Regions from separate parts of the Homo sapiens genome. Here regions 2, 3, 4, 5 and 6 are each linked to region 1. The links are contacts of gene promoters, found by promoter capture Hi-C in blood cells and fetal thymus (Javierre and others, 2016). All regions are on one chromosome and are shown on one strand. Each heading gives the region's core, a stretch centred on a gene start or on the middle of the fragment in contact. The rest is flanking DNA. Distances are from core to core; before and after follow the strand shown.

What was found. The method cuts DNA at HindIII sites, captures the fragments that hold promoters and counts their contacts. A CHiCAGO score of 5 or more calls a contact.
Region 2: a fragment that was not itself captured here is called in contact with the fragment with the promoter of LSR in region 1 in 2 of 17 cell types (total B cells and monocytes); the score reaches 6.3 in total B cells.
Region 3: a contact is called between a fragment that was not itself captured here and the fragment with the promoter of LSR in region 1, in 4 of 17 cell types (total B cells, M2 macrophages, M0 macrophages and 1 more). The highest score is 8.5, in total B cells.
Region 4: a fragment that was not itself captured here is called in contact with the fragment with the promoter of LSR in region 1 in 1 of 17 cell types (naive B cells); the score reaches 5.5 in naive B cells.
Region 5: the fragment with the promoter of LINC01531 here is called in contact with the fragment with the promoter of LSR in region 1 in 2 of 17 cell types (monocytes and neutrophils); the score reaches 11.2 in monocytes.
Region 6: a contact is called between the fragment with the promoter of HPN-AS1 here and the fragment with the promoter of LSR in region 1, in 4 of 17 cell types (naive CD8 T cells, naive B cells, total B cells and 1 more). The highest score is 6.4, in naive CD8 T cells.

The regions. Positions count from the first base shown.
Region 1 is chr19:35,245,459-35,250,282 of GRCh38, forward strand. It overlaps LSR (lipolysis stimulated lipoprotein receptor), which reads left to right and starts at 3,544. Exons shown (of 10, transcript NM_205834.4): 1 at 3,544-3,673. The coding sequence starts at 3,565. RefSeq lists enhancers at 2,128-2,297, 2,431-3,233, 3,234-4,035 and silencers at 3,148-3,227, 3,638-3,707. The HindIII fragment of the contact is 9,039 bases long and covers 1-4,824 here.
Region 2 is chr19:35,439,109-35,443,932 of GRCh38, forward strand. No RefSeq gene overlaps it. Among named protein-coding and RNA genes, the nearest start is that of FFAR2, 6.7 kb to the right of the region's middle. RefSeq lists an enhancer at 3,174-3,383. The HindIII fragment of the contact is 3,140 bases long and covers 496-3,635 here.
Region 3 is chr19:35,067,938-35,072,761 of GRCh38, forward strand. All of the region lies in intron 3 of HPN-AS1 (HPN antisense RNA 1), which reads right to left. Among named protein-coding and RNA genes, the nearest start is that of HPN, 29 kb to the left of the region's middle. RefSeq lists enhancers at 1-623, 624-1,309 and a silencer at 2,694-2,894. The HindIII fragment of the contact is 1,655 bases long and covers 1,920-3,574 here.
Region 4 is chr19:35,085,538-35,090,361 of GRCh38, forward strand. It overlaps HPN-AS1 (HPN antisense RNA 1), which reads right to left. Exons shown (of 4, transcript NR_024562.1): 3 at 1,419-1,563. It also overlaps the pseudogene LOC100420797. Among named protein-coding and RNA genes, the nearest start is that of HPN-AS1, 18 kb to the right of the region's middle. RefSeq lists enhancers at 682-731, 842-951. The HindIII fragment of the contact is 4,082 bases long and covers 712-4,793 here.
Region 5 is chr19:35,403,084-35,407,907 of GRCh38, forward strand. LINC01531 (long intergenic non-protein coding RNA 1531) reads left to right here and starts at 2,524. Exons shown (of 5, transcript NR_040046.1): 1 at 2,524-2,598; 2 at 3,502-4,824. The HindIII fragment of the contact is 14,783 bases long and covers 1-4,325 here.
Region 6 is chr19:35,103,691-35,108,514 of GRCh38, forward strand. It overlaps HPN-AS1 (HPN antisense RNA 1), which reads right to left and starts at 2,614. Exons shown (of 4, transcript NR_024562.1): 1 at 2,539-2,614. LOC124904701 (hepatitis A virus cellular receptor 1-like) reads left to right here. Exons shown (of 3, transcript XR_007067238.1): 2 at 809-3,146. The HindIII fragment of the contact is 15,680 bases long and covers 1-4,824 here.

The DNA.
Region 1 (4,824 bases), core at 2,294-4,793:
AAAAAAAAAAAAAAAAAAAAAAAAGATTGATAAAATAAATTAACAAGTATCTAAATAAATGGCATAAATGGCAAGATGTGTTCATGGATAGAAAGACTTAACATTAAAAATGTCAATACTACCCAAAACAATCTACAGATTCAACACAATGCTGATCAAAATTCCAACGTCTTTTCCCAAAGAAATGGAAGCAGATCCTCAAATTCATATGGAGTTTTAAGGGGCCCCCAATAACCAAAACAATACTGAAAGAGAAGAATAAAGTTAGAGGACTCACACTTTCCATCTGTGAACTTACTACAGAGCTATAGTAATTAAAACATATGGTACTTGCATAAGGATAGGCGTATAGATCAATGAAATAGAATACAGAACCGAGAAACAAACCCTCACATATATGATTAATTGATTTTTGACAAGGAAGCCAAGACCACTTAATGGGAAAAGGACAGTGTTTTCAACAAATGGTAGAGGGAAAACTGAATATCCATATGCAAAAAAATGAAGTTGGACCCTTCTACCACATACTAAAATTAAAATGGCCCAGGCCGGGTGCAGTGGCTCACACCTATGTGAGCACTTTGGGAAGCCAAGGCAGGTAGATTACTTGAGGTCAGGAGTTCGAGACCAGCCTGGCCAACATGGTGAAACCCCATCTCTTCTAAAAATACAAAAATTAACCCAGTGTGGTGGCATGCACCTGTAATCCCAAATACTCGGGAGGCTGAGGCATGAGAATCGGTTGAACCCGGCAGGTGGAGGTTGCAGTAAGCGGAGATCACACCACTGCACTCCAACCTGGGCGACAAAGTGAGACTCAGTCTCAAAAAATAAAATGAAATAAAATAAAGTGGCTCAAAGACTCAATTTAAGAGTTAAAACTATAAAACTCTTAGAAGAAAATATTGTTGAAAATCTTCATCACATTGGACTTGGCAACAACTGCATAAATAGGATACCAAAAGTACAAGGAAGAAAAAATAGTAGGTAAATTGAACTTCATCAAATTAAGAACTTTTGTGCACCAAAGGACACTATCAAGAAAGTGAAAAAACCTGGAGAATGGAAGAAAATATTTGCAGATCATATATCTAACAAGGGATTAATATTCAAAATATATATAGAACTCCTACAACTTGACAACAAAAAAACAAACAACCCAATTCAAAAATGGGCAAAGTACTTGAATAGACACTTCTCCAAAGAAGATATACTAATGGACAATAAATTCGTGGAAATATGCTCAACATCGTTAGTCATTGGGGAAATGCAGATTACAACCACAATGAGATGCCACTTCACACTAACCAGGATGGCCATAATCAAGAAAATGGATAATAAGTTTTGGTGGGGATGTGGAGAAATTGGAATCCTCCGTGCATTGCTGGTGGGAATGTACAATAGTGCAGTCATTGGGGAAAACAGTTTGGCAGTTCCTCAAAAGGTTAAAAATAGAACTACCAAGTCACCCAGCAATTCCATTCTTAGGCATATATTCAAAAGAAATGAAAGCAGATATTTGTACACCAGTGTTCACAGCTGCACTATTTACAATAGTCAAAAGGTAGAAACAACCTAGGTCCATCCACAAATGAATGGATAAATAAAACGTAGCATATACATACAATGGTACACTAGTCCGCTGTAAAAAGAAATTTTGATCTTACTGCATGCTACATGGCTTCGACATACTACAACATGGATGGACCTTGAAAACATTATTCTTTGTGAAATAAACTAGACACAGGACAAATGTTAGACGATTCCACTTATATGAGGCACCTAGAATGGGCAATTTGGTAAGCAAAGTAGAATAGAAATTACTAGGGGCACAGGTAGCAGGGAATGGGGAGTTACTGTTTAATGGTCACAGAGTTTATGTTGGGGATGATGAAACAGTTTCGGGGATAAAGAGTGGTGATTGGTACACGACATTGTGAATATACTTAATGCCACTGAATTTTACACTTGAAGTGGTTAAAGCGATAAATATTATAGTTTGCATATTTTATCATAAAAATATTTTTTTAAACGATGAAGGGACGTGAACGGGTTGAAATTTTATAAAAAGTGGCCAGGGAAGGTGTCACTGCAATGGTGTCCTACAGGAGGAGGAAGATCATGTGGACATCTGCGGGAAGGGTGTTCTGGCAGAGGGAGTAGCACGGGCGATGGCTCTGAGGACTGTGAGAAGTATAGTTGGAAACAGCGAGGAGGCCAGGGTGTCCGAAGCTGAGTAAGCCAGAGAGAGTGGGAGGAGGTGAGATAAGAGGGGGAAGGTCAGTTTCTGCTGAGAGTGAGGAGGAGCCACAGGAGGGCTGTGAGCAGGTGGACGTGATCTGGCTTGAGTTTTAACAGGGCCAGTAGAACAAAGCACGCCTGGGTACCGAAACCAGCCACTGGCCAGTTGGCAACCTGGGGGAGTCTAACGCGAGGAAGCGCCCAGGGTTCCCCCAGGATGCGCTTTCCCTCGCCGCCACCTGGAGACAGCAGAGTCACGCCCAGCGCTGCGCAGGCTGATCGCCGCGCCGCGCCCCCGCCCTCGGTCGCAGGTGGCTCGTTCCGGGAATTCCTAAGCGGAAACCGGTCCCAAGCCCCGCGCCTTCGCTCGGCCCCTTTAAGAGCCAGAATTTCCGGAGGGCTGACCCGGGGGCTAGGGATGCCCAGGGGCCGAACCACAAGTTGGGAACGGGTGGGGGAGGTGGCGAAAACTTCCGAAGTGGAATTCCAACTTTTCCTGGCCCTGATTCCCCTTGGGCATCCCTGAGGGGGCAGAGCTTCCCTTCCGGGGACTTTAGAGGGTTCCTCAGGTCATCTAACTGGGAGACACAGGAGGCCCGAAGCGCCCCCCCTCCACCCGGTCCGGAGGAACCCCAGTGGAAGTGGAGAAGTCAGGCGCCACCAACAAGCCTCTCCCAGCCAGGACTTTGCTTAGACTCGCTCCTCCCGGCAGGGCGCACCTAGGCGGGTCCATCGCCAGCCGGGGAGAGGGGTTTGGGCAGGGAGGGAACAGGTGCGCGGCGGGACCCGCCCTATCTCAACAGGTGAATCGCTCCAAGTGGGTCTCGGTTGCATGGATCTCGGTGCGCTTGGTTTGGCCGGAGCAGATGGGGGCCGGAAGGGACCTGTGGTCCGCAGGCGCCCTCCCAGCGGGCCAGTCACTTGGTTCGGGCCCTGGGGGACGGAGCGCACCTGGGTCAGCCCACTTCCGGGGAGGGAGGCAGAGGAACCCCTCCCCGCCGCTCACCCCTAAGCCCAGCCCTCGGCTCCCACCCTTGTGTACCTGGGCCGAACCATTCACCGGAGCGCGCAGCGGGTGGAGTGTGGCTCGGAGGACCGCGGCGGGTCAAGCACCTTTCTCCCCCATATCTGAAAGCATGCCCTTTGTCCACGTCGTTTACGCTCATTAAAACTTCCAGAATGCAACAGGACGGACTTGGAGTAGGGACAAGGAACGGAAGTGGGAAGGGGAGGAGCGTGCACCCCTCCTGGCCTTGGTGCGCGCCGCGCCCCCTAAGGTACTTTGGAAGGGACGCGCGGGCCAGACGCGCCCAGACGGCCGCGATGGCGCTGTTGGCCGGCGGGCTCTCCAGAGGGCTGGGCTCCCACCCGGCCGCCGCAGGCCGGGACGCGGTCGTCTTCGTGTGGCTTCTGCTTAGCACCTGGTGCACAGGTACGGGGCACGGGGCCTCTGACGCTGCGGAACGCCGGAGGGAACTGTAGAGGGGGATGGATGGAGTTGGAGGCGGCGGGAAGCGGGAAGCGGGGGTCTCAGAGGCTGGGACCTTCCGATCCCCTGGGTCTTGGGCGATCTGTTGCGCGCGGGAGTGAGAGGAATTCCCCATTTGTGCCGGGGAGCGCTCCCCGCGCCCTTATCTGGAAGATAGCAGGAAGTGAAACTCCCTGGACGGTGAGACCCGGAGCGGCAGGGAGAATGGAACTCTTTGTGGGGAGGGAGTGGAAGACCGCCCGATCTCTGGGAAAAGAAAAGCCGGGATGGGACTTGGGCGCACCCGGGGATTTCTAAGTTTTGGAGTAACGGGGAGAGGGCACGGGAGGGCTGGATCAGACGCTTCCTAGAGGGACAGAGACGAAGGAACAATGCCTAGGCCTCGGGTGGGTGTGGGACTGGGGACTCCCCATCCCCCGCACCCCACCCACCTCCCGCGGGCTCCGGATTATACGTGCGTAAGAGTCTGGTGGGATGGATTTACGGACTTGAAACCGACTTCTGCTGGCAGGCTTTCACCTGGATGGGATATTTGGGTGGTGATGAGGTCTTTCCCGAGACACTTTTGGTTCAGTCATTTGAAATGACTTTAGAGTAGGGTGAGGTGGTGGGAGGCTGATGGAGATATTGTGGGGGCTTTAGTCCCTCCATGGCAAAGCAGTTCAGGCAAACAACTCCATGGTTTTCCCTCCAAATTCAAAAGGCCCCGGGTAACCTGGAATCCTTCGTAGTCGGTTTTGAAGTGGGGCCTTGGGCGCTGGGGGCATCAACATGGCCATCTGGGCTTGCCTGCCCAGGCCACACAGAGGCCCCTTGTTGTGGGTGAATGGCAAAGGGAAGAGGGGACTGGTGTGGTTCAGAGGCCACAGGCTGGGAAGAGGGATGGCGGGCGAGTCCAAGGAAACTGGCCGTGTCACCGTGCACCTGCCACTTCAGCCCCACGGGTCTATAAAATGGGCATGATTATCGTGGCTACCTCACTGGTCCTGGCAATTAAGGAACAATGTGTGCCAGGCACTCTGTAAACCACATACTTGCGAGTGTCAAGCTGGTGACAGGTGGCGTTCCTGTTGAAGCACCTCCCTGAGCTCACA
Region 2 (4,824 bases), core at 816-3,315, 190 kb after region 1:
CTCCAGGATCACAGCATCTTCTCCCCTTCTGTCTGATTTCTCCCTCTACCTCTTTCTTTTTGTGATTACATTTAGGACCATCTCAGATAGTCCAAGATTATCTCCCCATCTAAAGATTCTTTTTTTTTTTTTGAGACGGAGTCTCACTCTGTTGCCAGGCTAGAGTGCAGTGGCACGATCTCTGCTCACTGCAGCCTCCACTTCCCGTATTCAAGTGATTCTCCTGCCTCAGCCTCTGGAGTAGCTGGGATTACAGGATTACAGATGCACACCACCATGCCTGGCTAAGTTTTTGGATTTTTAATAGAGATGAGACGGGGTTTTGCCATATTGGCCAGGCTGGTCTCGAACTCCTGGCCTCAAGTGATCTGCCTGCCTCGGCCTCCCAAAGTGCTGGGAACACAGGTGTGAGCCAATGCGCCCAGTTCTGCCTCCTCCTTTTTGTGATTATGTTTAGGGCCATCTCAGATAGTCCAAGATGACCTCCCCATCTCAAGCTTCTTAATCCCAATGCAAAGTCCCTTTTGGCCGTGGTTCCAGGGATTAGGATATGGGTCTCTTTTGGGGGGACCATCATTTGGCCACCACAGCTGGTGTGATTGGCCAGGAGTGAAGTCTAATAAACAGGACTCAGGTGGACGGAGAGTGGAGGAAGGAGAGGTCTCTGCAGAGAGAGGTTGGGGTATGGCTACCGGCAGTGGGTGGGAACAACCACAGAGGCCCACCACCAAGGCCACAGAGACAGAGTCTGCAGAGTTCTCCCAAGAAGCTAGCCTTGAGACGCTCCTTTTAATTTTCTTCTTCAGCAATGTACCAGCCCGGGGATGGGTTCTGCAGGGACTGTGGAAGTGAAGGACCCCACGACTGGAGTGACAGGGGAGGCTGCATAATAGACAACTAAAAGAGAAGATGCACGGAGGGGGGTGGGCATAAACTGTTACCTTCACAGTGGGTGAGCTCCTCTGGTGAGGCCTCTGCAGGGCTCAAAAAAGGTGATACGCAAATGAACTCAGGGGAACTGCACTGGCACAGGGGCCATTACGTCTCAAAGTCCATCAGCACGTGCTGGTCTAGATTCTCCTTCCCTCTTCATCCCTAGGAGAGTTCCATTTCTCTCTGGCATCCTGTACTTCCTTATTAATTGTCATTTATTTAAAATTGCACACTGGGTGCAATGGCCCACACCTGTAATCCCAGCACTTAGGGAGGCCAAAGCAGGAGAATCGCTTGAGGCCAGGTGTTTGAGACCAGCCTGAGAAACACAGCAAGACCCTGTCTCTACAAAAAATAGCAAATTAGCCAAGTGTGGTGGCCAAGCCCGTAGTCTCAGCTACTTGGGAGGCCGAGGTGGGAGGACCGCTGGAGCCCAGGAGGTCGAGGCTGGAGTGAGCTATGATCACACCACTGCACTCCAGCCTGAAGTGACAGAGCGAGACCCCCACCTCTAAAAATAATAATAATCAGCCCAGACGTGGTGGTTCACACCTGTAATCCCAGCACTTTGGGAAGCCAAGGTGAGAGTATGGCTTGAGGCCAGGAGTTTGAGACCAGCCTGGGCAACATAACAAGACCCCATCTCTACCAAAAATAAAAATAATAAAAACATTTAGAAATAATAATAATAAAACAAAGTTACATATCTCAAATCCTAAGTGATCCTCTCTGCCCCGGGTGCACATTCTCCCTTATCCATGCCATCCTCAATCCCCTCAACCCCTGGCGACTGCAACACCCTCCTAGCGGATCCCTCTGCTTCCAGTTCTGTCCTTCTAGGGAGCATTCTTCACACAGTAGCAGGCTTGATCTTCTAGAATCATATATCACATCACATCATTCCCCTCTTATGGCCCTAAGTGACTTCCCACTGCTCAAAAATGGAGTCTTAAGGCCGGGTGCAGTGGCTCACACCTGTAATCCCAGCATTTGGGAGGCTGGCAATTGTTTCATTCATTCATTCATTTAACAAATATATATCCACCCCCCAGGATGTGCCAGGATCTGTGCCAAGCATTAGAAATATCATGGTTGAAAAATACAGATGGGTCCAGGCGCAGAGGCTGACGCCTGTAATCCCAGCATTTTGGGAGGCCGAGGCAGGCGGTTCACCTGAGGTCAGGAGTTCAAGACCAGCCTGGCCAACATGGTGAAACCCCGTCTCTACTAAAAATACAAAAATTAGCAGGGCATGGTGACAGACACCTGTAATCCCAGCTACTCAAGAGGCTGAGACGGGAAAATCAATTAAACCCAGGAGGCAGAGGTTGCAATGAGCCAAGATCACGCCACTATGCTCCAGCCTGGATGACAGAGCAAGACTCCGTCTCAAAAAAAAAAAAAAAGGTATATAGCCTGGATCATCAGTGCTGACCATGAGGAAAAAGGTCCTGTGGCTTTTGCTGCAAGTCCCTTAAACCACAAGACAGCTCTCAAGTGATTACACGTCCAGGATGTCTTAACAGGTCCCAGAAAAAGATAAATGAGGCATCTGAGGACAAGCGTCCTCTGAGTTTTTGAAATGGACTTATCTCCATTCTGAAGTCACTCTCATCCATCTATCCTCCACTGTCATCCAGGAAATAGTTACTAAGGGCCTAACATGTTCCAGGCTGCACGCCAGGTCCTGAGGATGCAATGGTGAGCAAAGCAGCTGTGTTCCCTGCTTTGTGGACAGTCTCATAAGGGGAGGTAGACTTCACATCCATCTTAATGCAAATCCTCATGCTAATGAACACATTATAATAAATTGAGACGTGGGACATAGGAAGGAATAGTAAAAGATGCTATGAGAGCAACCAACAATGAGAAAATAAACTCTAAAAAAATTAAATTTACAGCTGCCTCCAAAATATTTAGAATCATGCAAAACCTCTATGCTGACAACTAGAAAGCATTGCTGAGAGGAATTAAAGACCTAAATAAATGGAGAGAGATGTCCAGTGTCAATGATCCCAAATTGATCTATGGATTCAGTGTGAGCCCATTCAAAATTCCAGCAGGCTTTTCTGTAGAAATTGATTTTAATATTTATATGAACATGCAAATGACCCAGAATAGCCACAGCAAATTTAGAAAAGAAGAAGGAAGTTGGAGGACTTACTCTATTTCAAGACTTATTATGAAACCACAGTAATCAAGACTGTGTGCAGGCCGGGCACAGTGGTTCGTGCCTGTAATCCCAGCACTTCGGGAGGCCGGGGCACGTGGATCACTTGAGGTCAGGAGTTGAAGACTTGCCTGGCCAACATGGCGAAACCCTGTCTCTAATACAAATACAAAAATTAGCCGGGGGTGGTGGCAAGCATCTGTAATCCCAGCTACTCAGGAGGCTGAGACAGAAGAATTGCTGGAACCCAGGAGGAGGAGGGTTCAGTGAGCTGAGATCACGCCACAACACTGTAGCCTGGGAGACAGAGCAAGACTCCATCTAAAAATAAAAATTTTAAAAAATAATAAAAATAAATAAATTTTAAAAATACCGTGTGCAAATGATGAAAGGCAAGACACAGAGTCTCTCAGAAGAATAGAGCGTCCAGAAATAGTACCACACACACATACAACCAATGGGTTTTTAGTACAGGTGCCGCGGCAATTCAACAGGGAAAGGAAAATCTGGAATAATTGGATAAGGAGGTAAAAGCTTCTTAGGACATAAAAGCACAAACCATAGAAGAAAAACCAGATAAATTAGACCTTGTCAAAATGTAACACTTTTTTGCTTTTCAAGAGACAATTAAGAAAATGAAGACCAGGCACAGTGGCTCATGCCTGTAATCCCAGCACTTTGGGAGGCCGAGGTGGGCAGACTGCTTGAGCTCAGGAGGTCGATGCCAGCTTGGACAAAATGGCAAAACCTCATCAGTACAAAAAATAGAAAAATTAGTCAGGCATGGTGGCAGGTGCCTGCAGTCCCAGCTACTTGGAGGGCTGAGGCGGAAAGGTCACCTGAGCCTGGGAGGTCAAGGCTGCAATGAGCTGTGATGGAGCCACTGCACTCCAGCCTGGGCAACAAAGTGAAACTCTGTCTCAAAAAAAAAAAAAATTAAAAGAAGAGAAAAGTCACAGAATGGCAGAAAATATTGGTAATATATACATCTGACAAATGACTAGTACCAAGAATATAATAAAGAACTCTCAGAACTCAACTATATGAAAATAATCCAATTTTTCTTTTTTTTTTTTTTTTTTTTGAGACAGAGTTTCACTCTGTTGCCCAGGCTGGAGTGCAGTAGTATGATCTTGGCTCACTGCAACCTCTGCCTCCTGGGTTCAAGCGATCCTCCTGCCTCAGCCTCCCTAGTAGCTGGGATTACAGGCGCCCGCCACCACGCCCAGCTAAATTTTGTATTTTTAGTAGAGATGAGGTTTCACTATGTTGGCCAGGCTGGTCTGAAACTCCTGACCTCAAGCAATCCACCCACTTCAGCCTCCAAAAATGCTAGGATTACAGGTGTGAGCCACCATGCCCAGCCTAAAATTTTTTAAATGAGCAAAATATTTAAACAGACATTCCACGAAAGAAGATATACAAATGGCTCATAAGTACTTGAAAAAATGCTTAACACCAATAATCATCAAGAAAGTATAAATTAAGACCACAACAAAGGCCGGGTACGGTGGTCCACGCCTGTAATCCCAGCACTTTGGGCAGCTGAGGCGGGCAGATCACCTGAGGTCAGGAGTTCAAGACCAGTCTGGCCAACATGGCAAAACCCCATCTGTATTAAAAATACAAAAATTAGCCAGGTGTGGTGGCACGTGCCTGTAATCCCAGCTACTCAGGGGGCTGAGGCACGAGAATGGCTTGAACCCAGGAGGTGAAGTTTG
Region 3 (4,824 bases), core at 1,497-3,996, 180 kb before region 1:
GCGGGCAGGGGTGGGGGTCACAAGGTGCTCAGTGGGGGAGCTTCTGAGCCAGGAGAAGGAATTTCACAAGGTAATGTCATCAGTTAAGGCAGGAACCGGCCATTTTCACTTCTTTTGTGATTCTTCAGTTACTTCAGGCCATCTGGATGTATACATGCAGGCTTGGGCTCAGAGGCCTGACACTGGGATTACAGATGTCTGCTGCCACACCTGGCTAATTTTTGTATTTTTAGTAGAGACGGGTTTCACCATGTTGGCAGGCTGGTCTCGAACTCCTGACCTCAGGTGATCCGCCCACCTTGGCCTCCCAAAGTGCTGGGATTACAAGCCTAAGCCACTGCACCCAGCCCAGCTTCCTAAAATATAGATGATCTACAAGAGCTCCTTTGAGAAACTGACAAACTGTGCATTTGGAAAACGATCCCAGCGTCACTCCCCGATCCCCACACCCCTGGCGAGGTTGAGCCCCACCACTGCTTTGTTGGTCAGGAGCCCCCAGGCCCACATCGTGTTAGCAGAGCCTCAGTGCAGTTTCCCCAAACGTCTACCTCTGGCTGTGGTGTTCTACCCATGGCATGTGGGATGTAATTTGAGACCTGACCTACGGCTTGCTTTGTTAGAAACGTATTGAGTTACAACACGGAGTGACTGAGTTTTCCTTTGTAATTGCCAGCTGAGAAATGTACTGTACCTGTGTTTTAGGAAGTCTGGGGACTCTGAGAGAACATGGTCCACCCTGGGGGTTCTAAACTGAGGTGACCATGTCCTGGAGGGACACAGTTTGCTCTGGTGAGGAGAAGGGCGGGTGTGAGGGGCACTGAAGAAGGCATGGCCCTGCCCTGGGAAGTCTGGGGGGGATGTGGCCTTATTCTAGGGGATCTGATGGAAATTTGGTCATTAAAAGCCAACAGGCATCCTGCTGGGAAAATAAAAACCAGGTGGCCATGTTATTGGAAAGGGGTCCTGATCCAGACCCCAGGGGTTCTTGGATCTCGTGCAAGAAAGAATTCATGGCAAGTCCACAGAGTAAAGTGAAAGCAAGTTGATTAAGAAAGTAAAGGAATAAAAGAATGGCTACTCCATAGACAGAGCAGCCCCGAGGGTTGCTGGTTGCCCATTGTTATGGTTATTTCTTGATTTAGTCTTGATTTATTATTTAGTTATGCTAAACAAGGGGTGGATTATTGACGCCTCCCCTTTTTAGACCATATAGGATAACTTCCCAACATTGCCACGGCATTTGTAAATTGTCATAGCGCTGGTGGGGGTGTAGCAGTGAGGACAATCAGAGGTCACTTTCATGGCCATCTTGGTTTTGGTGGGTTTTCCCGACTTCTTTACTGCAGTCTGTTTTATCAGAAAGGTCTTTATGACCTGTATCTTGTGCCGACCTCCTCTCTCATCCTCTGACTTAGAATGCCTTAATTTACCGGGAATGCGGGCCAGCAGGTCTCCGCCTTACTTTACCCAGGTCCTATTTAAGATGGAGTTGCTCTGGTTCAAACGCCTCTGACAGCCATTCTGAGTTCTGTCTGCACTGTTGCTTTGTTGGAGGAGTGGAGGGGCTGGGGAGATTGTGATTCACTCAACAGCCATTCACTGGTTTCCCTTGTATGCCAGGGGTCAGTGAGCCTCAGTTTCTCCTCCTGCTCCCAGCAACCTTGCCACTCACCCCAAAGAGCTAGGAAGATATTTAAAAAGAATAATAACAGTCACAAGGTTGCTTTCAGTTCCTGCCAGGGTCTCAGTCTTCAGAAAAGCTGAATATGAAAATTACTTCCATGTCATTGTGGTGCCGCTCAGAATCAGAAATATTTGACCCATCTTACAGAATTAGTGCAACTACATCAGGAACCCAAGCCAAGTTTTGCATTCCTATTTAGCATTTATATCTACATAGTCCTTTTCAAATATAGAAAAGCTTTCTGGATGTTAGTTGGAACAGATAGCTCCATATGTGGTTATAAGTTGGCATTCTCCCAGCTGGGTTGAAGGAGAAATGTACAGCTACTCTGCCACAACAGTTATTTCATACATAAAATCACAGCCATGATTAGCAATGATGGTGAAGGCTATTCATTTTATATTCAGAAATAATTATTGTGAACATTCAGATAGCAGCATAAGTAGGGAGATGGACTTTAGTTTCTGCATAAAAAGTAACACTGTTTCAATCCTGCAGTTATGAAGCGAGGAGCTGTTTTGGCTCTTGCTGCATGACATACCACCCAAAGCTAGTGGGTACAGTAAATGCTCATGGATTCTGCAGCTCAGAAAGTTGGACAGGGAACAGCAGGCACAGCTTGTCTCTGCTCCCTGATGACCAGGTCCTTAGCTAGAAAGCCTAAAGGAACAGGGACTGGAATAGGGAGGCTTCTTTTGTTTGTTTGTTTTGAAACAGGGTCCCACTCTGTCGCCCAGGCTGGAGTGCAGTGGTGTGATCATGGCTCACTAAAACTTCTACCACCTGGGCTCAATCGATCCTCCCAACTTAGCTTCCCAAGTAACTGGGACTACGGGTGTGTGCCACCATACCCAACTAATTTTATTTTTTTTTTGTAGAGATGGGACTGGTTGCCCAGGCTGGTCTTGAACTCCTGGGCTCAAGTGACCCTCCTGCCTCGGTATCCCAAAAGGAGGCTCTTTACTCACAAGTCTAGTATCCGGGCTGGGATCACTCAAAAGCTGAGCTCAGCTGGTACTGTGGACTCATTGTCTGGCTAACTTGGGCTTCCTTCCAATATGGCTACCCAAGGACATTTGAACTTCTCACGTGGTGGCTCATGGCTCCAGAGTGAGCATTCCAGCAGACACTGGCCTTTACACCCCAGCCTCATTTCTGCTCCACTCTGTCAGCTGAAGCAATCACAAACCTGTCCAGACCCTAGAGGAGGAGATGGAGACCCCACCCTTTGGTGGTGGAAGGCAGGTCAAAAAATTTGGGGCCACATCTTAAAACTGCCCTAGGAGCTTATGGACTATCGGAGCAAATTAACAGCTGACAAAGCAGAGAAATGATCCCTCAGTAAGGTGTTCAACCTGAAATATTTCCCTGCTAAAATTGTGGATAATAAAATTATGACAGTAATAACTTTTTAGAACACTTTCACATTTGTTCTTACATTACAGAAGTTCATTCTAAGAAGGTGATAGTCAGCTTTGGGCAAATCTTTAATTTAATACTTCACTAATTAGCATTTGGCCACAATGCCTGTTTCACTTCTAAATAATAATAATAATTTATATTAATAAACATATCCATGCATATTTTTGAGCACTTCCTATGTGACAGGTACTGTACTGAGAGTTTTATACATGTTACTTCAGTATTTCCCCAAATTCAGATGTTTGAAAGTGGCTGTCTTAATTTTTGCTATTCATTCATTCAAATAATATTTATTAAGCACCTATTATGTGCCAGACACTGTTCTAGGAATTGGAGAAATATAGGGGACAGGACAAACCAACTTTATGGAGCTTAGGGGCAAACAAATACCGCTGGTACTACTTGTATTGTTTTATTCAAATTATCTCTTTTCCTTTTGTGTGTGTGTGTGTGTGTCTTTTTTTTTTAAGCTTAGCCTTGACTTTATTTATGTATTATTTTTATTGATTTATTTATTTTGAGACCGGGTTATGAGACTGGCTAATTTTTGTATTTTTGATAGTGATGGGGTCTCGCTATGCTGCCCAGGCTGGTCTCAGACTCCTGGGCTCAAGCGATCCACCTGCCTTGGCCTCCCAAAGTGCTAGGATTACAGGCATGAGCCACTGTGCCCTGCCAGCCTTGACTTTAACAATAATGTTTATGAAACTGTGGGTTTGAGGCCGGGTGCAGTGGCTCATACCTGCAATCCCAGCACTTTGGGAGGCCGAGGCGGGTGGATCACGAGGTCAGGAGATTGAGACCATCCTGGCTAACACGGTGAAACCCCATCTCTACTAAAAATACAAAAAAATTAGCCAGGCATGGTGGCGGGTGCCTGTAGTCCCAGCTACTCAGGAGGCTGAGACAGGAGAATGGCGTGAAGCCGGGAGGTGGAGCTTGCAGTGAGCCGAGTTTGCGCCACTGTACTCCAGCCTGGGCGACAGAGCGAGACTCTGTCTCAAAAAAAAAAAAAAAAAAAAAAAGAAACTGTGGGTTTGATGTGGCGGTGGCAGATATATGTTTTTCAATATAAATCAAAACAAATGTATTAAATAAACAAATGCTAGTGAAATAATAACAATTCCTTCTTCACTGCCATCCTATACTCTCCCGGGGTTTCCCGCCAGCAGCCCATGTGCCGCCCTTTGGGAAACACTTGTTTCATCGCCATGCAAGCTGGGAAGGAGGGTCTGTGGGGTTTGCTGTCCTACAGAGGGGCTGCATATCCCGTCCAAGGTCCACCTCCGAGGGGCAGGGCTGGCGCTGGGGCCTGGGGCTGGAACAGCTCGGGATATGGCACTGAGCTCTCATTCCCAGCCTCTCTCTGCTGAGCAGGTTCGGACACTTTCTCCCTGGCGGGGTGGTGGGGGGGTCCCTGGACCGCTAGGGAAGTGCATGTGTCCAGATGCTGGCGGTGTTCTGGAGAAAAAGATGGGATGCCTTAACCCAGACACTCCTTGGACTGGTGGTGCAAAAAGGAGCCTTCGAATGAGGACTGGGCCCAGGTGTGGCAGGCCAGGTCTCACTAACGCAGGCCTCCATAACAACTGTTTCAGCACCGACTGAGTGGCTAAGTCAAATATTAAAAGCTGATAGAGCCAGTGCCCTATACAAAAGCTGGAATGTAACAAAAGCCTACCAAGAGTTTTGCTCAGGCCTTTCCTGGGCTTTAAAGC
Region 4 (4,824 bases), core at 1,503-4,002, 160 kb before region 1:
TAAGAGGCCCCCACAGCGGCCTCTCTCTGCTCACCCTGCCTCCTCCTACACTGGCTTTGTCTAGCTCACTCCACACCGAGGGTCCAGCCACACTGGCCTCTCTGCTGTCCCTGGACCACGCCAAATGCCTTCCCACCCCTGGGTCTTTGCATCTGCTGTTCCCCCGGCCTGGAATGCTCTTTCCCAGACGTACACACGGCTGGCTCCTTCCATCATTCAGGCCTCAGCTCCAATGTCACCTCTGCAGAGAGGCCTCCCTAGCCACTGTCCTCAAATCAGCCCATGGGGCTCAGCCACTCTGCGCTACCTAAAGCTGGGTAACACAGATCTAACCCAGTTTCTCAATCCAAAATTATCTTTTATTTATTGCTAGTTTGTCGCCCATTTCCCCCCTCTAGAATAGGCCAGCACACTTTTATGATAAAAGGCCAGATAATAAATATTTTAGGCTTTCAGGGCCACACTCTGCCACAACTACTCAAAGCTTCTGTTGTAACATAAGAACAGTCATAGACAATACACGAACCGGCGAGCTGGCTTTCATGAAGACATTATTTATAGACACCGGAATTTGAATTTTACATGATTTTCACACCTCACAAAATTTCCTCTTTTGGTTTCTTTTTTTCTAACCACTTAAACATGTAAAGACTATTTAGATTGTAGGCTGTGCCAAAACAGGTGGAGGGCCAGATTTGGGCCCAAGGGTGAAGCTTGTCAACGTCTGCCCTAGAACATCTGTTTTATGAGGTCAGGGATCTCTGTCTTGGTCATTGCTGTGTCCCCAGGCCCTGGGATGTTCCCGGCATGTAGTGGATGCCAAAGTTGAACAAATATGTGCTATAGAAAAGGCTTCGACACATTCATTAATTCTTCCAACAAATATCCATTGAGGTTTGCCGTGAGCTGGGCTCTGGGGAGATAGCAGGGAACATAATTTGAACGTGGGGCAGTGAGTTGACATCCTTGCATTGAATGACTTGTGTTCCTCCAGAGCTGACCTGGCCCCCCGACAGCCACTACGAGCTGTGTGGCTTCTCCTGTCCCAGCTCCTGCACCGAGCCTGCCCTGCCCGACAGCTGTCTGACACCATGCCAGGATGGCTGCCAGTGTGACCCAGGATTTGTGCTCAGTGGCACGGACTGCTTGACCCCCATCCAGTGCAGCTGCTCCATGGGGGGCAGATACCACCTGGCCGGGGAGCCATTCTGGGCTAGGGAGCACTGTGAGCAATTCTGCCACTGCGAGGCTTCCACCCATGCTGTGTGCTGCTCCCCCTCCTCCTGTGGGCCAGGGCAGAGATGTGGGACCCTAAGGGGCATCTTTGGGTGCCACCCATTCTCCCCTGGCACCTGCCAAGCAGCCGGGCACTCACACATCATCACCTTTGATGGGAAAACTGTTGAGTTCTCAGGTACCTGTGTGTCCGTCTTTGCCGAATCCTGTGGCTCTTCCGGCTCACTGCCATTCTTCAGGATACAGCTGTGAAAGGAGAACAGATCCAGCAGCCCCCTCATGCTCATCTTGGAGGTGTCTGTCCAGGTTAATGGGACCCAGGTCCACCTGCGGAGGGACAGCCCAGGCATGGCTCAGATAAGCACCAGCTTTGGGACGTGTCGTTTCTAGGAACCCCAACCCTTCACCCAAACCCATAGGCCCAAGGGAAAAACTTATTCTGTCTCCATTATTTCTACATTTTACCTCTATTTTCTGATTATATGCCCATTTTTGACTATATCCATCAGATGCATTCAGCTAATATAACAGAAACACTCTCAGACCAGCTTAAGAAAAAAAAGAATTACTGATTTACACAATTGAAAAAAAAAATCTACAGGTGTATGGATTCAGGCATAGCTGGACCCAGGTGCTTGAACAATATGTCTCAAATCTGTCTCAATTTCTGGGCTCTCCTTTCCTTCATTTTCAGACAGGCACCATCCCATCCCACCTTGTAGGGACAAGGACAGCTGCCAGGTTAGCAAATGTCACTGGAGGAAAAGTGTCCCTCACTGGCCCAGCTTGAGTCATGTGACCACCCCTGAATCCCTGATGGACTAGCTGATTGGCTGGGCCTGGGTCATGTGCTGGAAGTTAGGATAGGATTGACTTTCTGTGAACCACATGGATTGATTTTGGAGGGGTGAGTTCTCAGGGAAATCCAGAGAAAGGAGAAATGAATGCAGAACAGGATAAAACAAGAGATGGTCACTATTATAGTTATGTCCTTGTTCCTTCATCTAAAAATGTTTTACATGTATTGGTACGGTGGCTTACATCTGTAATCCTAACACTTTGGGAGGCCAAGGCAGGTGGATCCCTTGAGCCCAGGAGTTCAAGACCAGCCTGTCTCAAGCAGGCAATATAGCGAGACCCCGTATCTAAAAAAGAATTAGGTGGGTGTGTTGGCGCACGCTTATAGTCCCAGCTTATAGTCCCAGCTACTTAAGAGGCTGAGGTGGGAAGATCGCATGAACACAGGAGTTCATGGCTGCAGTGTGCCATGATTGTGCCACTGCATCCAGCCTGAGGGTCAGAGTGAGACCCTATATCAAAAAAAATCAACATTTTTCACGTATTTGAACACCTACTATGTGCCAAGCAACACTGACCCAACTGTGGTCCTATGCTCCCGAGCCTTCCTTTGATTCTGCCTGCTCCTTAGGTGAATGGTGAGACAACAGCCCTCCCCGTAAGCCTGAATGGGGGCAGCCTTGCCGTCCACTGGAATGGCCTCTTCTCCCTGCTGCAGTCAGACTTTGGCCTCTGGCTCAGCACAGATCTCACCTACAGCCTTACCCTCACCCTGCCCCACCTCTACAAGGGTCACACCTGTGGGCTCTGAGGCAACTTCAACTGCAACCCCAGTGAGGACGCTAAGGCTGACATTACCTTGGAGAAGCAGAGCAAGGCTTGTAGGGACAGCTGTGGGGCTGCCTGTCCAGTCTCAGTCTGCAATGACCAGGGGCAGATTGTGTCAGCCAGGAGGCAGTGCTGGCTCCTGCAGGACCCCCAGGACCCTTCAGCCACTGCCACTGGGAGATCAACCCAGACCCATATGTTTCCAGCTGTGTCGATGATTTGTGTCTTGCTGGGGATGATGACCACATCCTCTGCCTGGCCCTGCAGACATATGCCGCCATCTGCCAGGGCGCCAACATCACCATCAGGCACTAGAGGAATTCTTCCTTCTGTGGTGAGTCATGGTTGAGCAGGGCAGGAATTCATCTGCATGCTCTGTATGGCCACACACAGACTGACATCCTTCTGTACTCCTGGGCTGCCTGAGTGCCCCAACCACTTCCCATATTCCCAATTCCAGCACAGGAAGGCCTTCCAGGTTCTCCTCCTAGGCTCCAGCTGGACGCATGTGGATTGGTAGGGGGCCTGTATGCTACCGACTGTTATGTTTTTTTTTGTTTTTTGTTTTTTTTGAGACAGAGTCTCACTCTGTCACCCACGCTGGAGTGCAGTGACTTGTTCTTAGCTCACTGCAACCTCCTCCTCTCGGGTTCAAACTATTCTTCTGCCTCAGCCTCCCAAGTAGCTGGGATTACAGGTGCCCGCCATCACGCCCAGATGATTTTTTGTATTTTTAGTAGAGATGGGGTTTCACCATGTTGGCCAGGCTGGTCTCGAACTCCTGACCTCAGGTGATCCGCCCACCTCGGCCTCCCAAAGTGCTGGGATTACAGGTATGAGCCATGGCACCCAGCCCGCTATGTATTTTGAATACCACCCTGGGTTGACTGGATCCCTGGCCCCCTGTCAAGGGGATGTCCTTTTCCACCCTCAGAATGCCTGACCTGAGATGCCACAATAATAATCCCAACAACTGCTAATACTTATTGAACATCTACAATGTCCCAGGCATGGGGCCGAAGGCTCTGTGTACCTCTTGCCGCCACTGTCTCAGAAACACCCTGCAAGTGAGAGGCAATGACTGTTATTATTCCCACTTTACATTTGGGAAAACAGAGGCTCACAGAGGTAAAGCCATTTGTCTACTGCTAATCACAACAGACAGAGTTGAGACTTGAACTAAGACTTTCTTTCTCCAGAGACAAAAGAAGTTTTATTACTAGCCATATCATCTAATTCTTTCTTTCTTATTTAACTATTATGGAAAATTTGAACATAAAAGTAGAGAGAATAGCCTATTGAATGCCCCTGTACCCAGAAGGCAGCCTCAACAACAGCCAAGTTGTGGCCGACCTGTGTCCACCTCCACCCCTCCCTTATTGATTTATTTTGTGTAAAGCAAATCCCAGACAACGTGTAAACCTGTAAATACTCCAGCATTATTTTTTTTAATAGATAAGGACTTTTAAAAAGAAAAAAACCTGCTGTGGCCGGGCGCGTGGCTCACGCTCACACCTGTAATCCCAGCACTTTGGGAGGTCGAGGCAGGCGGATCACCTGAGGTAGGGAGTTTGAGACCAGCCTGACCAACATGGAGAAACCCCGTCTCTACTAAAAATACAAAATTAGCCGGCGTGGTGCTGCATGCCTGTAATCCCAGCTACTCGGGAGGCTGAGGCAGGAGGATCACTTGAACCTGGGAGGCGGAAGTTGCGGTGAGCTAAGATTGCGCCATTGCACTCCAGCCTGGGCAACAAGAGCGAAACTCCGTCTCAAAAAACAAAGACAAAACAAACAAACAAAAAAACCTGCTGTGATTTGCTCACACCTAACAAAATAAGCAGTAATTCCCAGATATCATGAAAAGCCTAGTCCATGTTCAGATTTTTCTGATCGTTCCTAAAACATCCGGCTTTCCTCCCTTGCACCAAAGCTTTGCTGGCCCCTAATGCTTGCCCATTA
Region 5 (4,824 bases), core at 1,274-3,773, 160 kb after region 1:
TGGGCCCAGCTTTTTTTTTTTTTTTTTAAAGAAATGGAGTCTGGCTCTGTCGCCCAGGCTGGAGTGCAATGGCGTGATTGCAGCTCACTACAGCCTGGAACTCCTGGGCTTAAGCAGTCCTCCCACTTCAGCTTCCTGAGTAGTTGCAAATACAAGCATGCACCAGCACACTCAGCTAATTTTTTAATTTTTTTAGCGATGGGCTACCGCTATGTTGCCCAGGCTGGTCTCAAACAACTGAATTCAAGCAATCCTTCTGCTTTAGCCTCCCAAAGTGCTGGGATTTCCAGCATGAGCCACCACATCTGGCCCCCTTTCATCTTAAAATGCTTCCCATTCTGTTTTGGGTGCCCCATATCTGACCTTTACCCTATCTGTCATTGCGGGATGCTGACAAGGACAGTGTGGCTCAATGTGGGTTTCTGTTGTCAAGATACCACAAGGGCATGGAACCAGAAGGGGGCTGTCAGTTTCTGACTGGCTGCAGCAGCTTATCAGAACGTATCACAGATCAGGAGAGGACGATATGATCAACGGATGAGGTAACCATCAGCTGAGGGCAAACAGCTCCTAACTAAAGTCAGCACTTTACAGCTGGCTCCAGTGCACTCTCCCTGTGGCTGCAGGCAGAGCAGCCAGGGCCCCTCCTCCAGCCTCCTCCCACCTCAGAGCTTCAGAGCTTCAGACATCCTTGGTGCTGAGGCCTAGGTTCCATGAGGTCAAAGGGAGAATTCAGGCCGGGCACAGTGGCTCACGCCTGTAATTCCAACACTTTGGGAGGCCAAGGTGGGTTGATCACCTGAGCTCAGGAGTTCGAGACCAGCCTGACCAATATGGTGAAACCTCATCTCTACTAAAAATACAAAAATTAGCCAGGTGTGGTGGTGAGTGCCTGTAATCCCAGCTACTCAGGAGGCTGAGTCAGGAGAATGGCGTGAACCCAGGAGAATGGAGGTTGCAGTGAGCCGAGATCGCCTCTGCACTCCAGCCTGGGCAACAGAGTGAGACTCTGTCTCAAAAAAAAAAAAAAAAGGAGAATTCAGACTAAGCTGTTTTGCAGCATCCCAAGGCTGTGTTGACCTCACGTACAGCTGCATCATGGGAGTGGGCGGTGCGACATCTCAAGTCCAACTCAACCGAGCCATGGTTCAGGCTAAGTTCCCGCTGGTGCCCCTACCTGGAACGCTCTTCAGATAGTGGCTCCTTCTCACCCATTCAAATGTCCCAGGCCTTTCCTGACAGGCCCTGCCCATCTCTCTCTCTCTCTCTCTCAATTTCCCTGCTTGCTTTTTGTTGTTGTTGTTGTTGTTGTTTGATTTTTGGTCCTTTTTTTTTTTTTTTTTTGAGGCAGAGTCTTCCTCTGTCGCCCAGGCTGGAGTGCAGTGGCATGATCTCGGCTGACTGCAATCTCTGCCTCCCAGGTTAAGGTGATTCTCCTGCCCCAGTCTCCTGAGTAGCTGGGATTACCAGTGCCCGCCACCATACCTGGCTAATTTTTGTATTTTTAGTAGAGACAGAGTTTCACCATGTTGGCCAGGCTGGTCTCAAACTCCTGACCTCAAGTGATGTGCCCGCCTCAGCTTCCCAAAGTGCTGGGGTTACAGGCATGAACCCCACCACGCCTAGCCGATTTATTTTCTTTCCCTTTTTTTTCCCCCAGACAGGACCACTGGATTGGAGTGGTGCCATCATAGTTCATTTTAATTTCCAACTCCTAGGCTCAAGTGATCCTCCCGCCTCAGCCTCCTGAGTATCTAGGACTACAGGTGTGCACCACCATGCCTGGCTAATTTTTTATTTTTATCCTTTTTTGTAGAGACAGGGGATCTCACTATGTTGCCCAGGCTGGTCTCAAACACCCAGCCTTAAGCAATCCTCCTCCTGCCTCAGCCTCCTAAGTAGCTGGGATTATAGGTGTGAGCCACCATGCCTGACTTTTTATCTCACTTTTTGTAGAGACGGGGTATCGCTATGTTGACCAGGCTGGTTTTGAACTCCTGGCCTCAAGCAGTCCTCCTGCCTGGGCCTCCCAAAGCGTTGAGATCACAGACGTGAGCCACCTTGCCTGGCCTACTTCCTTTCTTCCTGTAAAATTGCCTTGTTGGTTTGTCTACTTGTTTTCTGTTCATCCTGTTCACTCTTGTCTCCAGCTCCTAGAACAGTACCTCACACAGAGTAACGGCTCCATGTGTTTTGTGACAGGGAAGCAGACAGTGTGGCTTGTTGGAGAGGAGCCACATACCCCCGCCCCCCGATTCATACATGGTGTGACTCAGCCCGAACCATTGCTCAGTTGAGTTGGATTTGAGATGATGCACTGCCCACTCCCGTGATACAGCTGTGTGTGAGGTCAGCACAGTCTTGGGGTGCTGCCAGACAACTTAGTTTGAATTCTCCCTTTGACTCATTGGAACCTAGACCTCAGCACCAAAGATGTCCCCATACCAGTAACCCGGGCAACAGAATGCAGATAAAGGACAGGAGACAAAAGGCGCAGGTTCTGACACATTCTTTGCTTGTGTCATCAGCTAGCAAGTATTCACAGGCACATCCAACCTCCATCCTTACATTCCACAAGGATTTGAGTGTCTGTTATAGGCAAGGGACAATGCTAGGTTTTTTTTTCTAAAAACAAACTTGGGGCTGGGCATGGTGGCTCACACTTGTAATCCTAGCACTTTGGGAGGCCAAAGCGGGTGGACTGCCTGAGCTCAAGAGTTCGACAACTCTTGGTAACATGGTGAAACCCCGTCTCTGCCAAAAATACAAAAAATTAGCCAGATGCAGTGGCGTGCACCTGTGGCCCAGCTTCTCGGGAGGCTGAGGTGTGAGGATCACTTGAGCCCGAAAGGTGAAGGCTGCAGTGGGCCGCGATTGCACCACTGAACTCTAGCCTGGGCAACAGAGTGGGACCCTGTCTCAAAACAACAACAACAAAATAAGAAAGAAAGAAAGAAAAAGCGGAAGTGAGAGATGGATGTGCGTGTAGTCGTGTGGGATAATTGCCCATGGGAAGGAAACAGAATTCAACCTCTTGGAATGTAGGGGGAGGAGGAAGCCTGAAAAAACTGTTCAAATTTGGATTCTGGGCTGAGCACAGTGGCTCACGCCTGTAATCCCAGCACTTTGGGAGGCAAGGCAGGCGGATCACTTGAGGTTCGGAGTTCGAGACTAGCCTGGCCAACATGGTGAAACCCTGTCTACAAAAAATACAAAAATTAGTCGGGCGTGGTGTTGCACACCTGTAATCCCACTACTTGGAAGGCTGGGGTAGGAGAATCACTTGAACTAGGGAGGCAGAGGTTGCAGTGAGCTGAGATCGCACCACTAAACTCCAGCCTGGGTGATAGAGCAAGACTCTGCCTCAAAAAAAAAAAAATTGGACTCTGGGTGAAATAAGTCTGTTGGGGACAAAATCTGGTGGGAGACCCAGAAGGTCAAGCTGCTTTAGAAAGAGCTCAACCACTGACTTTCCTCTTTTTGACCACATGACTCTTCCAGGTATAAAAGCCTGCCGTTGGTGGAAAAGGAAAAGGTGGTCCAGTTAGACAAGATGCCACCGGCTTCTGAAACCAGACATCTTTGAAAACCCACCCATCTACCTGCAGGAAAAGGCAAGGGACCTGACCTCGCCTGGGCTCAGGGAAGAGGTTGCTGGGATCATAACCCCAGGAAGAGACGGGATGGAAGGAGAGCATGCAGGGAGCAGAGGACAGGCTACTCTCCAAGGAGGAGAGGGAAGAGGCCACAGAAATGGAAAAGGGGCCAGGACAAGTCAGTGGAGAGATGGTCAGGGCCTGGCGAGGAGGAGCAGGACAAAAGCGGTGGAGCTCAGCCCCGTGGCGGCAGGGCCACTCCCATTCATCTGGTCCTCTACTTCTGAAGTTCTCGAATGCAGAATGAGATGTACAGATGGGCCAGCAGGTGATATGCTATCTGTCATAGGTTAAGGCCTCATTATTTTATTCATTTTTAAACTTTTTTTTTTTTGAGACAGGGTCTTGTTCTGTCGCCCAGGCTGGTTTGCAGTGGTGCCACCATGGTTCACTGTAACCTTGAAGCCCCTGGGCTCAAGTGATCCTCCTGCCTCAGCCTCCAGAGTAACGAGGACTACAGGTGCACACCGCCATGCCCAGCTAATTTCTTAACGTTTTGTAGAGAAAGGCTCTCACTGTGTTGCCCAGGCTGGTCTTGAACTCCTTGACTCAAGCAATCCTCCTGTCTTGGCTTCCCAAAGTGTTGGGATTACAGGTGTGAGCCACTGCTCCCAGCCACAAGTTTTATTTTAAATGTTTACCTTTCAATGATCACTTCGAGGAGATTTAAGCTTACTCTTTCTTTTTTTTTTTTCTTGAGATGGAGTCTTGCTGTGTCGTCCAGGCTGGAGTGCAGTGGTGCTATCTTGGCTCACTGCAACCTCTGCTTCCCAGGTTCAAGTGATTCTCCTACCTCAGCCTCCCGAGTAGCTGAGACTACAGGCATGTGCCACCACTCCCTACTAATTTTTGTATTTTTAGTAGAGTCGGGGTTTCACCATGTTAGCCAGGTTGGTCTCGAACTCCTGACCTAAAGTGATCTGCCTGCCTCAGCCTCCCAAAGTGCTGGGAGGCATGAGCCACCATGCCTGGCTCATTGTCTAGTTTTTACCAAGAAGATGATGAGATATGCCAGAGGGCTCCGTATCTGCTATGAGAACGTCCCCCAAGAGCAGCTGGCCGTGGTGCTGCAGCTGGAGCTGTGCTTGGAGCTCTTCTTCACCCCCATGGCGGTCACCACCTTCTGCCACTGGCACTTTGTGCAGATCATGCTCTCTGGCCCCAAGTG
Region 6 (4,824 bases), core at 1,364-3,863, 140 kb before region 1:
CTTGAGCCCAGGAGTTCAAGACCAGCCTGGGCAACATAGGGAGACCCCGTCTCTACAAAAAATCATGTAAATTAGCCGGGCGTGGTGATGTGTGCCTGTAATCCCAGCACGTTGGGAGGCTGAGGCAGGAGGATAGCTTGAGCCCAGGAGTTCAAGACCAGCCTGGGCAACATAGTGAGACCCCATCTCTACAAAAAATCAAGTACATTATCCAGGTGTGATGGTGCGTCTGTAGTCCCAACAAGTCGAGAGACTGAGGCGAGAGAATCACTTGAGCCCATGATGTTGAAGCTGCAGTGAGCCGAGATCATGCCATTGCACTGTAGCTTGAGTGACAGAGCGAGACCCTGTCTCCAAAAAAAACAAAAAGGGAAGCAGTGAAGTGTGGAGCAGAGATCGGAAGGAGAGACCGGGAGCCATGTAGATACAAGGGGAGAGTGTCCAGGCAGAGGAGCAGAGGCTGGAAGGGTGCCTGGTGTGTTGGAGGAGTGGTGGGGAGACCCGGGGAGCTGGCGCAGAGTGGGCAGATGAGTGAAGGGGTGTGTGAGACAAGATGAGGACAGAGGGGACAGAGGTTTATTTTGTGGGACTGCCCAGGCCACGGTGGCGAGTTTGGATTTTCTCCAAGTGTACTAGGGAGGTATGGAAAGGTTTTGAGCAAAGGAGGGATAGGATCTAATGTGCGATTTCAAAGGGCTCCTTGGGTGCTATGTGCAGAGTGGATCTCAGCAGTGGCAGGAGCAGGGGCCCAGGAGGGGCAGGTGTCTGGACGTGGTTGCCCGACGTAGCCTGGGTGTCTGTGTTCCAGGTGAACGGCTCCCAGGCTGGCCTGCCCCTGACTCTGGCTGGGGGGCACACTCCAGGCCTTCTTCACGCCCTTGGCCATCACAGTCCAGGTGGCACCCGGCCTCTCCATGACCTTTCACGAATCCCATGCCCTCTGAGTGGCAGTGCCTGAGACCTACACCAACACCCTCTGTGGCCTGGGCGGGGACTTCAGCGTGGATACCCAGGATGACTTCAGCGGCTCTGATAGCACATGGCTCTCTGATGCCAACAGCTTAATGGGGGCCCAGCCCCTCTGTGCCCACCAGACAAGGCAGCCCTATACCAGGCCTTCTGTGGCTTGCTGGGCACCCAAGATGGGCCCTACAGGGCCTGCAGTAAGGACGTGGATCCCCAGGTGCATGTGGAGAACTGCATCCATGACCTCTGTGCCACGGGGGGCTCAAGAGAGACTCTGTGTGCCATACTGGGGAGCTACGCCCAGGAAAGCCAGCAGCGCAGCGTTCCCATGCAGCCCTGGAGACACCTCTTGGCCTGCAGTAAGTGGGTATTCCCAGGGAGGGTCTTTCTCAGCCTGACCTCCCCAGCTGGCCCAATACCACTTCCAGGATGTCCTCCTAGGTCAACACCACCCAAAGTGACCCACTGCATGCCTTTCTGGCTAACTGTTCCCGCGAAGAACCTACCTGCTTAAAACTCTGCAATAACAATAACAGATGACACTGAGTGCTATTGCATCAGTCAGGATGGTCTGGGTTATGCTGAAGTAACGAACTAACCTGAACATGACCCAGCATGACCAAGGTTGTTTCTTCATCACTATCTTCGTCACCTTTGTCATCATCACAGTCACTATCATCATTACCGTCACCATCACCACCACCACCAGCGTCACCATCACCACCACCACCAGCCTCACCACCACCACCACCACCAGCATTACCATCATCACCACCACCACCATCACCACAAGCATTACCATCATCACTACCACCACCATCATTGTTACCACAACCACAACCATCACCACCATCACCATCATCATTGTTACCACAGCCACAGCCATCATCACCACTACCATCACCACCATCATCACCATCACCACCATCACCATCATCATCACCACCACCACCACCATCAACATCATCATCACCATCATAACCATCACCACCAGCATCACCATCACCACCAGCATCAGCATCACCATCACTACTATAATCACCATCACCATTATCACTACCACCACCATCATTGTTACCACAACCACAACTATTGTCATCACCACCACCACCACCCTCACCACTATCATCACTGTCACCATCACCGCTATCATTACCATCACCATCAACACCATCACATCACCAACAACATCACCAGCCCTACCACCATCATCATCATTACTATCACCACGACCACCACCACCACCATTATCACCACCATGATCACGCCACCAGCATTATCACCACCGTGACCACGCCGCCACCGTTAATCACCGCCGTGACCACGCCGCCACCGTTATCACCGCCGTGACCACGCCGCCACCGTTATCACCGCCGTGACCACGCCGCCACCGTTATCACCGCCGTGACCACGCCGCCACCATTATGCTACATCCTGATGATGCCTCCACCTCCCCTCCTTTGCCTTTATGACTTACCCTTGGCCCCCACAACCCTCTCTCCGCTCCCTTGGTCCTATTCTGGTTGGAAATGCTCCAGAATAGTAATGCTTGCTCAATTATTTAACTCCTACCTGTTTTCTTCCAGAGCTGGCCTGTCCTCCCCGCAGCAATTACGAGCTCTGCGGCTCCTCCTGTCCTAGCTCTTGTGCCGAGCCTGCCCTGCCCGACAGCTGCCTGACACCATGCCAGGATGGCTGCCAGTGTGACCCAGGCTTTGTGCTCAGTGGCATGGACTGCGTGCCCCCAATCCAGTGCAGCTGCTCCATGGGGGGCAGGTACCACCACCCGGCTGGGGAGGCCTTCTGGACTGGGGAGCGCTGTGAGCAATTCTGCCACTGCCAGGCCTCCACCCACGCCGTGTGCTGCTCCCCGTCCTCCTGTGGGCCGGGGCAGAGATGTGAGACCCTCAGGGGCATCTTTGGGTGCCACCCACTCTCCCCTGGCATTTATCAAGCAACCATGCACTCACACGTCGCCTCCTTTGACCGGAAGAGTGTTGAGTTTCCAGGCACTTGCGCTTCTGCTTTTACCAAGTCCTGTGGCTCCTCCAGCTCATTGCGCCTTTTCAAGGTGGAAATTGGGAAGGAGAAACAAGTCCAGCAGTCCCATTGTGTTCATTTCAAAGATGTAGGTTCATGGGACCCAGGTTTGTCTGCAGAGAGAGCCCCGACCTGATGAGGTAAGCACTCATTGGCATCTAGAGACTCTTGAACCGATTGAAGCTAAAAGAAATACATTGGCTCAAACTAAGTAAAAATCATGTGATAGCCTAGTGAAAGTGTAGAGATTCTGGGTCCACAGAAGTTCCCTATATACCACTTTGGCTGTTTTGGTTACAGAAAGCCTCATAAAAGGTAACTCAAACCAGTCACAGACTGTGTTTTATGATTTTTAGACTAATTACATAACTGAAAATTCCAGAGGGAGATCAGGCATGGTTTGATCAGGGTGCTAACTCAGTTTTTCAGCATTTCTCTTGGTCTGTGTTTCTCTATAGCATTAGCTTTGTCCTCAGGCTGGCTTTTCTTGTGATGGCAAAATAACTGCCAATTTTCCAGTCATTAAATGTGTATTCCCCATTGTCCAAAACCCGAATCTTTTCTTACCCCAAGTACTCAACAAAAATTCCAATGCTTCACTTTGATTAAACCCCACTGAGCCAATCAGTGCAGCCCAGAGGTTTTCTTAAGCCTATCTAATCCTACTCAGGAGTTGTAGGTGGGAGAGATCCTGCCCCTACCCCCCATCTCTGGCAGCTACTTCTTGCAGGGAGAGAGGGCAAAATGGGAATCCACCCCTGTGTCCCTATGTCCCCCGAAACCAGTATTTCTTCTTAACAATCTTCAAAGAGTGTAAATGCCCTGGTAAACCTCCACTCTGAGACCTGAAACTTTTGTCTAGAACCCACAGGGGTGGATGTGTTTTCTAGGCCCGAGGGCCCCTGCCTACAAGAGTTCCATTGTTGGCTATTGGAAAACACACAGCCACACCCCTCCCACTCCACCCCCTTCCAGGAAGGGAACCAGCTTTCAGAATTAGTCATGCTGTCAGCGTCCCACACAACGAGCCCATTGACTCCAAAGGGCAGCACAGCAGATGGACTGCTATTATCCCAGTGGTACAGATGGGGAAACTGAGGCCCGGGAAGGCAGACTTGCTTGCCTAATGTCGCATAAGGAGAAAGTGGCTGTGCTAGGATTGGAACCCAGGCTGTCAGGTTCTGAGCCCTTCCCTTTCTGTCTGTGGGCCTACTGTGTGCTCCCAAAAAGCTGTGGCCAAATTAAGGAGGTGGCATGTCTGATTCATCTGTGGCGGGGCCTGGGATATATAGTAACTCTCAACAATGGTGTTCATTAGTCCGGGCATGGAGGCTCACGCCTGTAATTCCAGCACTTTGGGAGGCCGAGGCGAGTGGATCACCTGAGGTCAGGAGTTCGAGACCAGCCTGGCCAACATGGAGAAACCCCATCTCTACTAAAAATACAAAAAAATTGCACTTTAGGAGGCTGAGGCGGGCAGATCACCTGAGGTAGGGAGTTCGAGACCAGCCTGGCCAACATGGAGAAACCCCGTCTCTACTAAAAATACAAAATTAGCCAGGCGTGGTAGTGCATGCCTGTAATCCCAGCTACTCGGGAGGCCGAGGCAGGAGAATCACCTGAACCCGGGAGGCGGAGATTGCAGTGAGCTGAGATAACGCCATTGCACTCCAGCCTGGGCAACAAGAGCGAAATTCCGTCTCAAAAAAAAAAAAAAAAAAAAGAATGGCGTTCATTCATCCACTCATTAAAAACTTCCTGAGCACCTACTATGTGCCAGACCCTGGGCTCAGTGCTGGGGAAACAGCAGTGGGTGGA